2 separate regions of the Homo sapiens genome follow, and region 1 is linked to region 2. Evidence: promoter capture Hi-C in 16 types of primary human blood cells and fetal thymus (Javierre and others, 2016). All regions are on one chromosome and are shown on one strand. The core of a region is centred on a gene start or on the middle of the fragment in contact, and the rest is flanking DNA. Distances in the headings are between cores, read along the strand shown.

Evidence for each region. The method cuts DNA at HindIII sites, captures the fragments that hold promoters and counts their contacts. A CHiCAGO score of 5 or more calls a contact.
Region 1: a contact is called between a fragment that was not itself captured here and the fragment with the promoter of SPESP1 in region 2, in 1 of 17 cell types (M2 macrophages). The highest score is 7.4, in M2 macrophages.

The regions. Positions count from the first base shown.
Region 1 is chr15:68,522,842-68,528,806 of GRCh38, forward strand. It overlaps a transcript of CORO2B not described here. Among named protein-coding and RNA genes, the nearest start is that of CORO2B, 53 kb to the right of the region's middle. The HindIII fragment of the contact is 6,311 bases long and covers 1-4,836 here.
Region 2 is chr15:68,927,572-68,933,972 of GRCh38, forward strand. SPESP1 (sperm equatorial segment protein 1) reads left to right here and starts at 2,954. Exons shown (of 2, transcript NM_145658.4): 1 at 2,954-3,146. The coding sequence starts at 3,083. SPESP1-NOX5 (SPESP1-NOX5 readthrough) reads left to right here and starts at 2,954. Exons shown (of 17, transcript NR_033672.2): 1 at 2,954-3,146. The HindIII fragment of the contact is 10,282 bases long and covers 1-5,693 here.

The DNA.
Region 1 (5,965 bases), core at 431-2,930, 410 kb before region 2:
GTGTTTTTCTTGCCTGTTTTTTCTCTTGGTCTTGTAACTTGGAATACTTACTATTTTTTATTGAATACTGGAGAGTTTATATTAAAACATGTGGAGACTTTGGATGATAACATCTTCTTCTATAGAGGGTTCATTCTATTCTCTGGCATGCAGTTAGAGTAGGGGCTGTTTGTTTACCTCCATTCAATCAAGGGCTGAACTGACTTGAAGTTGGTTTTAGTCTTTACAAATTTGTTCTTTCTCTTGTCATTTTTCCTCCAAGAGTATAGCCATCCAGGTCCAGGGGTATTTCTTGGGTCGGCCACTCATTCTTAGAAAATCCTAAATTCTTTCTTTTTCTTTTCTTTCTTTTTTCTTTTTTCTTTTTGAGACAGGGTCTCACTCTGTCACTCAGGCTGGATGGAGTGGAATGGCATAATCATGGCTCACTGCAGCCTCAACCTCCCAGGCTCAATGTGATCCTCCCACCTCAGCTTCCTAAGTAGCTAGGACCACAGGCACACGACTCCATGCCTAACTAATTTCTTAATTTTTTGTAGAGATGGGGGTCTCCCTATGTCGCCCAGGCTGGTCTTGAACTCCTGGGCTTAAGCAATCCTCCCTCCTCAGCCTCCCAAAGTGCTGGGACTATAGGCATGAGCCACTGTACCCAGCCCTAAATTCCAATTTTTGTCTCCCAGAGACCATGAAAGGTTTCCCAACTACCTTTTGTTTAGTTTCTTAGCTTCTCACCCTGCACAGCCAAGAATTGACAAATACCTCAAGTGGAAAAATGCTAACTGTCAGGTTTAGTTTTCTGTGCCTCCATTGTCTCTTGGACCTTGGCTCCTCAAGTCAGCTGCCTTGGGAGCCTAGAACTGTCCTTTTTTGTTCCTCTGCTCTATCAGATAGCCTAAAGCTCTGCTGGCTTCTCTGCTTCTTTGTGGGTAAACCCTACCAGGCCCTGCAGCCTCCCATATCCCAAGGGGAAAAGTGATGACCAGATATTGAGATCTTTCAAAGAACTTCCTTTTTTTTCTCCAAAATCTTGGCCCCTTAAATAGTGGTTGCCTTGGGTGTCCTACAATTCTTCAAAGATATTTTTAAAAATATTTTTTTCCAAGGCTGGCCTCAGTGGCTCATGCTTACAATCCAAGCACTTTGGGAGGCAAAGGTGGGAGGATTGCTTGAGCCCAGGAGTTCAAGACCAGGCTGGGCAACATAGTGAGACCTCATTTTTATAAAAAATTAAAAAATTAGCTGAGTGTGGTGGTGCATGCTTGCAGTCCCAACTACTTGGGAGGCTGAGATGAGAGGACCGCTTGAGCCCAGGAGGTGGCAGTGAACCATAATTGCACCACTGCACTCCAGCCTGGGCAACAGAGCAAAACCCTGTCTCAAAAAAAAAGAAAAGAAAAAATTCCAGCTTTTTAAGTTTATTTCACTAGAAACTTTGGTCTGACACAAGTTACTTTATTGTAACCAGAAGTAAAAGTATGACTCTTGTAGCTTTTAAAATCTTGTTTTAATGATATTAATATTAATAAAAATCTATTGTTTTCCCTAATCCCTTTTTGCTGTTCTATGAGGAAATAACTAAATCATAAATTCTTTCATGCACTTTTTGCTGAGATAAGATGGGCTTATCTCCCCAATCATACTCTAATAAATGAACTTCACCATTTTATTGCATGTACCTTTTTAAAAGCGCCATGCTAAGCATTCCCTTCTTTGAACCCTGCCTTGATACTGTGGAGAAAGTAGGGATATTTTTTCCATTTTGCAAATGAAGACATTGAAGCTCATAAAAATTTCTTTAACCAAGAAGTTAAATAAATTCTTCTAAGGCCGGTAATTAGGTAGAGGAGGCCTAACTAAAATTTAGCTCTTCCAGCTCAAAGTCTAGTCACCATTTATGCTTCTTTTCTGTTGGAGGCTCCCTGAAGCCAGAACATTTTCCTGAACACTCCACGGGACTCACTAAAGGTCTAAATACACAGTAGATGCTCTGGTATTACTTGCCGAATTGATTTATATTATGTTGCAGCAGCTGATCAGAGGCAGAGGCTCCCAGCCTGAGCCTAGCCCTTAACTGTTGCATCAGATTTTATTTAAAAAGGAACAGAGAATAATAAATTAAATTCTGGTGCCAAAAGGAACCCACAGGAATTTATGAGAAATACAACATAAATTCACTAAAACTCCTACTCAGTATTTATTCCTCTCTGTCTTATATTTAGGCACATCTGGGTATAACTAAATCAGCCAAATCTGCCACTCTCAGACAGGCAGCTTAACCCTCCTCCCATTCCCCCTAAAAAACCCCAAAAACAAAAATAAAGCAAACTGACATCATATAACAGTTAATGGGGCTTATTATGGTCTAAAATGACAGGCATGTAAATTGAAGCCAGTTCTGAAATAAGTCACTCAAAATTCAGGGGGGACGGGGGACAGATACAAACTTCATTTTCAAAGTAAATTCTGAAGCATTTTGAAAAGAAAAGAAGAGCTTTCTGTGAAACATTGCTGGAAAAGTCAGGAAGGACTACAGATGTTTTGAAGCAAATTACTAGTGAGTCTGTCAGAATTTGGAAAAGGACAGTTTCCCCTTATTCTGGGTCATGGGAGGACTCAAGAAGGCTTTGTAAGTTACCCAGCTGAAGCTAACTCGATTCTTGACAGAGCCTTTTGCAGGGTTTAGTGAAAATATTTTTCATTTGTTAAAAAGTAGAAATGTAATTTCTGTTACTTGCTCACTCAATCAAAATCTCCAGACTCTTGTCTCAAATTCAGCCTAATTCATATCTATCCCCAGAACAGAAACCAAAACCCCCAAAATGGGTCAAAATTATCAACTTTGTTTACAAAATAAGCTGCTGGGCAGAGAGTCAAACTGGGCTTGCTGGATTTTTTTAAAATAATTTTAATCAACTTTATTTACTTTATTAAATTATAACGTGTTAAAATGCACCAACTTAAAGCTGACAGTGCGATGAGTTTTTACAAATGTATACATTCATGTACAACATCAAAATCAAGATATAAAACACTTCTTCTGCCCAAAAAGTTTGCATATGTTGTGTCCCAATCAATCACTCTTACAACCAGCTTAAGGCAACCACTGATCAGCTTTTTGTCACTGGAACACAGATTTGTTATTTCTGGAGTTTCTAGAGTTTCAAATGAATGAAGTCATAAGTATGTACTCTTTCACACCCGGCTTCTCTCATTCAGCGTAATTATTCTGAGACTTATCCATGTGGTTTCATGTATCAATAGTCATTTTTTATGGTTGAGCATGATTCCATTATATGCATGTACCACAATTTATTTATCCACTCACCAGTTTATGCATGTACATTTTGGTTGGTTTTCGTTTTTGGTTTTTATTAAGATGTTATGAACACTTACAGATGGGTCTTCATATAGACACGTTTTCATTTCTCTTGAGTAAATGCCTAGGGGTACAATTGCTGGGTCATATAATAAATGTATATTTAAGTTTATAAGAAATTTCTAAAATTTTCTGAAGGGGCTATACCATTTTAGACTGTCACCAGCAATGCTCCACATCCTTCCAATTCTTGGATTGTCAGCTTTTAAATACTAACTATTCTAATGGGTGTGTAGTCATACCTCATTGTGGTTTAGGCTTTCATTTCCAGGATGACTAATGATGCTGAGCATCTTTTCACATGCTTATTGGCCATTGGTGCATCTTCTTTTGGGAACCATCTTTTTTAATCTATTGAGCATTTTTCAAATTTTTTGTTATTATTGAGTTCTAAGTGTTCTTTATAAATTCAGGATATAATGTTCACTTTACATATAGCTTTTGTCAGCTATATGAATATTTCCTCCCAGCCTGTGGCTTGTCTTTTCCTTTACTGAAGATGTTTTTCAAAGAGCAGAAGTTTTAAATGTTGAAAAAGATTTCTTTATTTACTTTATTAAAATATAGTGTCTTTGTGTATGTGTACCTAGTAAAAGGCACCAACTTAAAGTTCTGTTTTCGACAGAATCATGGTCCCCCAAAATTCCTATGTTGAAGCTCTAACCTCCAGTGTGACTGTGTTTGAAGACAGGGTCTTGAAGGTGATGATCAAGATTAAATGAGGTCATAGGGTAGGGCCCTCATACAATAGGATTGATTTCCTTACAAAAAGAGGAAGAGACACCAGAGAGGTGTGTGCAGAGAGAAAAGGCCGTGGGAGGACACAGTGAGAAGGCATCTGTTTGAAAACCAAAGACAGAGGCCTCAGTAGAAACCAAACCTGCCAGCCCCTTGATCTTGGACTTAACAGCCCCCAACAGGTACTTGTTATGTAAGTTACCCAGTCTGTGGTATTCTATTATGGCAGCCCTAACAAATTAATAGAAAAACCAAGTTATGAATTTTTTCTTTTGTGGTTTTTTAATTTTTCTTTCCCAGCTAGGCAATCCTTGCTTACCCCAAAGTTGAAAAGATTTTCTTCTATTTTTTTTTCCTATCAGTTTAACAGTTTTATCTTCCACCTTTAGATCTTTTTCCTGTTTTGGGTTCATTTTTATGTGAGGTTTATTTTTTCCTCATATGAATATCTAATTATTCCAGTGCAATTTGTTGGAAGACTCTCTTTTCCTTTATTGAAATATGTTAACAATCAATTGACCATGTATCTGTGAGTCTATTTTTGATTCTTTATTCTATTCCATTGATCTATGTGACTAATTTGATGCCAGTGCCACACTCTCTTCATTACTGTAGCTTTGTAATAAGTTCGAAAATCAGGTAATATAAGTCCTCCAACTTTGTTTTTCTTTTTCAAAATTGTTGCAGATTTTCTAAATCTTTTGCATATAAATTTTACACTAAGCTTGACAATTACTTTTAAAAGCCTCGGAAATTTTATCAGTCAATATGAAGTGGATTAACATTTTAGCAATACTCCAATCCATGAACATATTATAGCTCTCCCTTTATTTAGTTCTTTTAAAATTTCTCTCAGCAGTATTTTGTAGTTTTCAAAGTATAAATCTTACACATATTTTGTCAAATTTATCCCAAAGTGTTTCCTATTAATTGATGCTACTGTAAATGGTATTTTGTAAATTTTTATTTCTAGCTATTGTTGTTGGTAGAGAAAAACAGCTGATCTTTACTTATTAGCCTTGCATCCTGTGATCTTACTAAAGTCACCAAGTCACTTAGGAGTTCTCAAACCTTTAAAAATGTATGTTCTTTAGAACTTTCTATGTACACAATTATGTTGTCTGCTAATGAAGACAGTTTATTTCTTCCTTTCCATTCAGATGTCTTTTATTTCTTTTTCTTGCCTATTTCACTGGATAGGATCTTTAGGACAATGTTGAATAGAAGTAATAAAAGCAGATATTTTGTCTTGTTTCTGATGTTGGAAGGAAACCATATAGTCTTTAACCTTAAACTGATTCTCCTTATCAGGTCATACGTTTTTTATATATTCTCTTTATCAAGTTGAGGAAGTTTTCTTCTATTCCTAGTTTATTAGTAATTTTAATGATAAATTACCACTGAGTTTTTTCAAGTACTTTCTCTGCATCTATTGAGATGGATATATGGTTTTTATCCTTCATTCTATTAATGTGGTGAATTACAATGATTAACTTTTGGATATCAAATCAATCTTGTTTTCCTGGGATAAGTCCTGCTTTTGCATGATATATTATCCCTTAAAATATTGTTAATTCTATTTGCTTATGTTTTGTAAGGATTTATCACCATGAGTGATATTGATCTATAGTTTTCTTCCCTTTTTTGGTAATATCTGTATGTAGTTTTATTTGTATTGGGACATGATGGTCTCATAATGAGTTGGAATATGTTCCCTCCTCTTTTTTCTGAGTGTTTTTTTTTTTTTTTTGAATTGGTATTTCTTTCTTAAGTGTTTGTTGGAATTCACTAGTGAGTTCATCTGGGTCTGGACTATTTTGTGTTTTGGGGATAGGAAAGGGGCTTTTAAAT
Region 2 (6,401 bases), core at 1,704-4,203:
GAATCTTCACATTGGTTTCCTAACCTTTAGAACAAGGGTGAGCAAGATAGAAAAGACTATGAAGAATCCACAGAGCTTTATTACACTCTCCAACCCCCAATCAAAATAGTAATGCACAAGTTATAACAATCCCTTGTTGACTAGCTATAGTGTCACCCTAAAATATCTGAATCAATTATCTTAATTTATACCTGCCTTCCAGCTTGACTGGTAATGAAAACAGATGGACCTGGAAGAATGACTGACAATTATTAACTCAATTAAGTAGTGTACCCAACTGCAGGTGCCTTTCCAAGCATGGTCTCTTTCAAGGAACAAATCAACAGAGACCCTTGTATGTAGCTATTGCTTACGCAAATGCTTTCTCCTCCTCCATTTAACAAGCACTTACTGTCTTACAGTTTCTGTGAGTCAGGAATCTAAGCGTGGCTTAGCTGGGTGCCTCCATCTCTGGGTTTCTCAGGCAGCTACAATCAAGATGTCAGCCGGGCTGTGGTCAACTCCAGGCTCACCTGGGGAGAATCTATTACCAAGTTCACTCACCTGATTGTTGTCAGGCCTCAGGTCCTTACTGGCTGTTGGCTGGAGACATTGGTTCCTCAACATGTGTCCGGAATTGGTGGGTTCTTGGTCTAACTTAAAGAATGAAGCCGTGGATCCTCGTGGTGAGTGTCACAGTTCTTAAAGGCAGCATGTCCGGAATTTGTTCCTTCTGATGTTCGGATGTGTTTGGAGTTTCTTCCTTCTGGTGGATTCGTGGTCTAGCTGGACCAGGAGTGAAGCTGTAGACCCTCATGGTGAGTGTTACAGCTCTTATGGTGGCCCATCTGAGTTGTTCATTCATCCCGGTGGGTTCGTGGTCTCACTGGCTTCAGGAGTGAAGCGGCAGACCTTCGCAGCGAGTGTTACAGCTTATAAAGGCAGTGTGGGCCCAGAGTAAACAGCAGCAAGAGTTATTGCAAAAAGCGAAAGAACAAACCTTCCACACGACAGAAAGAGACTCCATAGGGTTACTACTGCTGGCTCGGGCAGCCTGCTTTTATTCCCTTATCTGGCCCCACCCACATCCTGCTGATTGGTTCACTTTACAGAGAGCTGATTGGTCCGTTTTGACAGGGTGCTGATTGGTGCATTTACAATCCCTGAGCTAGACACAAAAGTTCTCCAAGTCCCCACTAGATTAGCTAGACACGGGGTGCTGATTGGTGCATTTACAAACCTTGAGCTAGACACAGAGTGCCCATTGGTGCATTCACAATCCCTTAGCTAGACATAAAGGTTCTCCAAGTCCCCACCAGACTCAGGAGCCCAGCTGGCTTCACCCAGTGGATCCCACACCCAGGCGCAGGTGGAGCTGCCTGCCAGTCCCCGGCCCTGCGCCCGCACTCCTCAGCCCTTGGGCGGTCGATGGGACTGGGCGCCGTGGAGCAGGGAGCGGCGCTCCTCAGGGAGGCTCAGGCATGGCAGGCTGCAGGTCCCGAGCCCTGCCCTGCGGGGAGGCAGCTAAGGCCTGGCGAGAAATCGAGCACAGCAGCTCCTGGCCCAGGTGCTAAGCTCCCCCCAACTGCCCGTGGCCAGCGGGGACGGCCGGCCGCGCTGAGTGCCGGGCCCACCGAGCCCGCCGAGCCCACGCCCACCCGGAACTCGGGCTGGCCCGCAAGCGCCGTGCGCAGTCTCAGTTTCCGCCGGCGCCTCTAGTCTTGCTTCCCTCCAGTCCATTCTTCATGCTACAGGAAGAGTGAGTTTTCTGGAATACAAATCTAATCACAACCGTTCCCAGCTCAAAACCTAGCAGTACTCTAGTACTGGTGCCTCAGACTAAAATCCAAGCCCCTTGCTTCCTGAGGCAGAGATGAGTGTACGTGAATTTTTAAAAATAACCATACAGAAAAACAGATTCTTTGGGATGTGCAGTTCTGCGAATTTTTATTTTTATTTATTTTTTTGAGGTGGAGTCTTGCTCTGTCGCCCAGGCTGGAGTGCAGTGGCACGATCTCGGCTCACTGCAACCTCTGCTTCCCGGGTTCAAGTGATTCTCCTGCCTCAGTCTCCCAAGTAGCTGGGACTACAGGCGTGTGCCACCACCCACGCCTGGCTAATTTTGTATTTTTAGTAGCCACGAAGTTTCACTATGTTGGTCAGGCTGGTCTCGAACTCCTGACCTCAGGTGGTCCGCCCACCTCGGCCTCCCAAAGTGCTGGGATTACAGGAGTGAGCCACCGTGCCCGGCCTTCTGTGAATTTTAACACATGTATAGATTCTTGTGGCCACTGCCATCTATTAGTCCCCAAAACAACCTCATGCTATCCTTTCATAGTCGTACTCTCCCTCATCCCTACCCCTATCTTTTTAAGAAGGTCAAAGAAATGGAATGTGATCTTTTGAAAAACAAAAACACCCAAGCCCCTTAGGGCGTTTTTAATGCCCTTGCCTACCTCTCCTCCCTGTCCTCCAACAACTGCCCTCCCAAGCCCCACAATGCAACTCGCCGGAACTATGCTCAGTTCTTGGGGTGCTCCAAGCTGTCCTCCACTTAGCCAAGCTCCCCACCCGCTTCCGGGGGTGGGTTTCCACTGTGCACAACAGTACCTAGCGCTTCCCCCACTACAGCCCCCTTTCACGCTGTGGTAATTGCCAGGTTATCTGCCTCTCCCATTACAGTTCCTTCCTCACAGGGACCGCGTTTAAACCACGGCGGTATCCCTACCGCGCAGGATGGGCCGAGCCCCGCACGCCCCGAGGCAGCACCCCGCACGCAGTAGCCGGGCGTCGAGGCGTTCCCAGCCCACACCAGGCGCGGACCTACGAAGGCGGAGCGAGCATGCGCACTAGGAAGGGGCGGGGCGGGGCGCGCGCGATCCCCCGCCCCCTGCACGCGGTCCCAGGAGGGGCGGGCCTTGGCCGCTCGCTCTCCCCTCCCCCATGCCGCTGCGCTTGCGCGCTGGGGACAACCGTTGCTGGGTGTCCCAGGGCCTGAGGCAGGACGGTACTCCGCTGACACCTTCCCTTTCGGCCTTGAGGTTCCCAGCCTGGTGGCCCCAGGACGTTCCGGTCGCATGGCAGAGTGCTACGGACGACGCCTATGAAGCCCTTAGTCCTTCTAGTTGCGCTTTTGCTATGGCCTTCGTCTGTGCCGGCTTATCCGAGTGAGTGACGGGCCTGAGGAGGCAGCGGACCGGGGACACCCTGGGGGAACTTCCCGAGCTCCGCGACCTCGAAGCCTGGCCCTTCCTTCTCCCTGGTCCTACATGCCTCCCTCCCCCACTGTCCGGGGTCCTGGCCTCGACGCCGAGGGGTGTCCCTCTCCTCTCCTGGTCAGGGAACGCAGCAACTGAGGCGGCGCGGCCCAGATGAGACGGGAAGCGCCTGCGGGCCGTGGGCGCGGGTGGAACCCCCTCACCTCACCGGAGGCCTTCCTCTGCCCACCCGATCCTTCCCCAGCCATTGGGCGTGTGACCGTGCAGGGGTCGTGTGACAGCTGCTGGCCAGCTAGGAATGATTTTTACATTTTCTTCCTTTTTTTTTAATTATTATACTTTAAGTTCTAGGGTACATGTGCACAGCGTGCAGGTTTGTTACATATGTATCCATGTGCCATATTGGTGTGCTGCACCCATAACTTGTCATTTACATTAGGTATATCTCCTAATGCTATCCCTCCCCCCTCCCCCCACCCCACGGCAGGCCCTGGTGTGTGATGTTCTATTTTTGCATTTTCAAAGTAAATATGAAATGTACTCTTTCATGACTTGTGGAAAAGCATGACGCTCACATTTCATTGTTCGTGAATAAAGTTTTACTGGCACACCACCACGCTCATTCCTTTACGTATTGCCCATGGCTGCTTTCCCACGTTAGAACAACGGGGTTAAGTGGTTGCCACACAGTCTGGTCTGCAAAGACTGAAGTATTTACTCTCTGGCCCTGTACAGAAAAAAAGGTTGACCCGTACGGTAAAATTTGGAGAGCATGTGGATTGTGGGTCGCGGTCTGGGACACTCACCTGAGGATGCGCTCCCAGAGAGCATGCTTGCGCACACGGCATTCAAAGCCTTAGTTAAGCAGGATTATAACTTAAGACCTGCCAAGGAGCAATTTTTGTCCCTCCCCGAAAGCTGAAAACCAATAAGGTCAAATTCAGGGGTGCTAAGACTTTACTATATTAACAATATCATGTGGGCACCTTAAGGCACTTAGTATTTAAGTCAGGTAGGTGAGGCTTCCCCATTTAGTCTAACTGTAGTTCATTGTGGCATTTAGTAATGTTGGAGTTTGGTTTCACTTAAATCAATAAATACAATTTAACAGGTGTAAAAAAAGCGCTATCGTGCATGCTGATTATGCAAATCTATTTTTCAGAATTGCTAAACGATCTTAGTTAAAAATCAAATTTAAAAACTGAAAATACAACACAATCTAAATTATGAATAGTAATGGGAAAAGTTCTAGATGAAGTTCTAGGTAACTAAAGTTAGCTCTTTAAATACTAGCATTTATGATTTGTAGCTGTTTTTAATAAAAAGTTTTGTAAAATTTTTCTTCCTTGACATAGAGGACCAGAACATAATGAAGATGCTACTATCTTTTCTTGATGTCTGATGATCATTATTACTAACACCAGTTATTGCATTTTGGTAGTTGTAGATCAGCAAGTCACAAGTGACTAACATATATGGAGACTTTAACTGAAGTGACTTTAACACTGTCACACAGTACACTCTGGGACTGCTAGGTAGGAGTCCCTGGACACCCACTTAACTCAGTGCAGTCTCTTGCCTAACACCATAATTTTCCCCTCCCCCTCCCCTTCCCTTTTCCCCCCCTTTTTTTTTTGCCTGAGACAGGGTCTCACTCTCTAGCTCAGACTAGAGTGCAGTGGCCCGATCTCGGCTCACCGCAACCTCTGCCTCCCAGGCTCGAGGGATTCTCCCACCTCAGCCTCCTGAGTAGCTGGGATTATAGGCGCACGCCACTACCGCCTGGCTAATTTTTGTATTTCTAGTAGAGACGGGGTTTCACCATGTTGGCCAGGCTGGTCTCGAGCTCCTGACCTCAAATGATCCATCCGCCTCGGCCTTGCAAAGTGCTGGGATTACAGGCTTGAGCCACTGTGCCCAGCCAGCCTGTTGTCTTTCTTAGCACCCTATTCCCTAATCTTTCTTGGGAAGAAAGAAAAGGGTTGTAGGAAATGAAAAGACGCTTCCCAGAAAAAAGGAGTGATTTTGTGTTGAATATATAGATGTTATAAGACATAAGGAAACTATATACAGGTTGTAATCATAGAAGATGTCTTGGAATATGTAATTACCTTTCTTCTACAGAAGTGGATTAAGGAATATATAGAGCAGGCAGTGGTACATGGCTGCTTTCTCTGTATCTGTCTCTCTACTTTTTCTCTAATTTTAATTTTGTTTTTAAAATAAGTATACCAAAATGCGTATATCATTGAGCTTGATGTAAATCAGCTATGCATTCTTTTATATGGCCACTATTCAAACAATTGTTGGCGAGATGCAAAAGATAAGGTACATAGGTTTTTATAATGAAAAGTGCAGCTTTGACACATTTTTTCTAGACTACTAGACAGTTTTGAGGTTATTACGCAAACATCACGGGTGTATTAAGTAATTGCATTTATTGAAAACCTCAGTACTTCTTGTATCTGCCTATACCTTTCTAACAGGCCCAATCCAAGCTTAGCTAGTATTTGTTTAATCTAAATTCAGTTAGACATAAATGCAGCTTGGGTATACAGAAGTCGGCACTCCTTTACATACACACACACACATCCTGATGGTGCTGGAGAAACAACGTTTTACTATATAAAATTTTTATACATTCAGTTTCCTCTACCTGATTTTTCCATAGTTTTAAATACTTTGCCATTTTTAAATTTTTGAATGGGAAAGTATTTAATGTATTCCCTCTTTAATGTATTTGCACTGTGCAACTTACTTTACTTTTTAATGAGAATTCTTTTTGCTTTAAAAAAAAAAAAATGCACAGGCCGGGCACGGTGTCTTACACCTGTAATCCCAGCACTTTGGGAGGCTGAGGCGGGCAGATCACCTGAGCCCAGAAATTCAAGACCAGGCTGGGCAACATGGCGAAACCCCGTCTTTACAAAAAATACAAAAATTAGCCAGATGTGGTGGGGCAGGCCTGTAGTCCCAGCTATTCGGGAGGCTGAGGTGGGAGGATCACCTGAGCCCAGGAGGTAGAGGTTGCAGTGAGCTGAGATGGCGCCACTGCATTCCAGCCTGGCTGACAGAGTGAGACCTTGTCTCAAAAAAAAAAAAAAGCACAGTAACTTCTAAAGTAATATTAACATAATAGTTACATATTTAAATAATATCAACTACTATTAAAATTATATAATTGGCCTTTTTAAATTTTAAGTC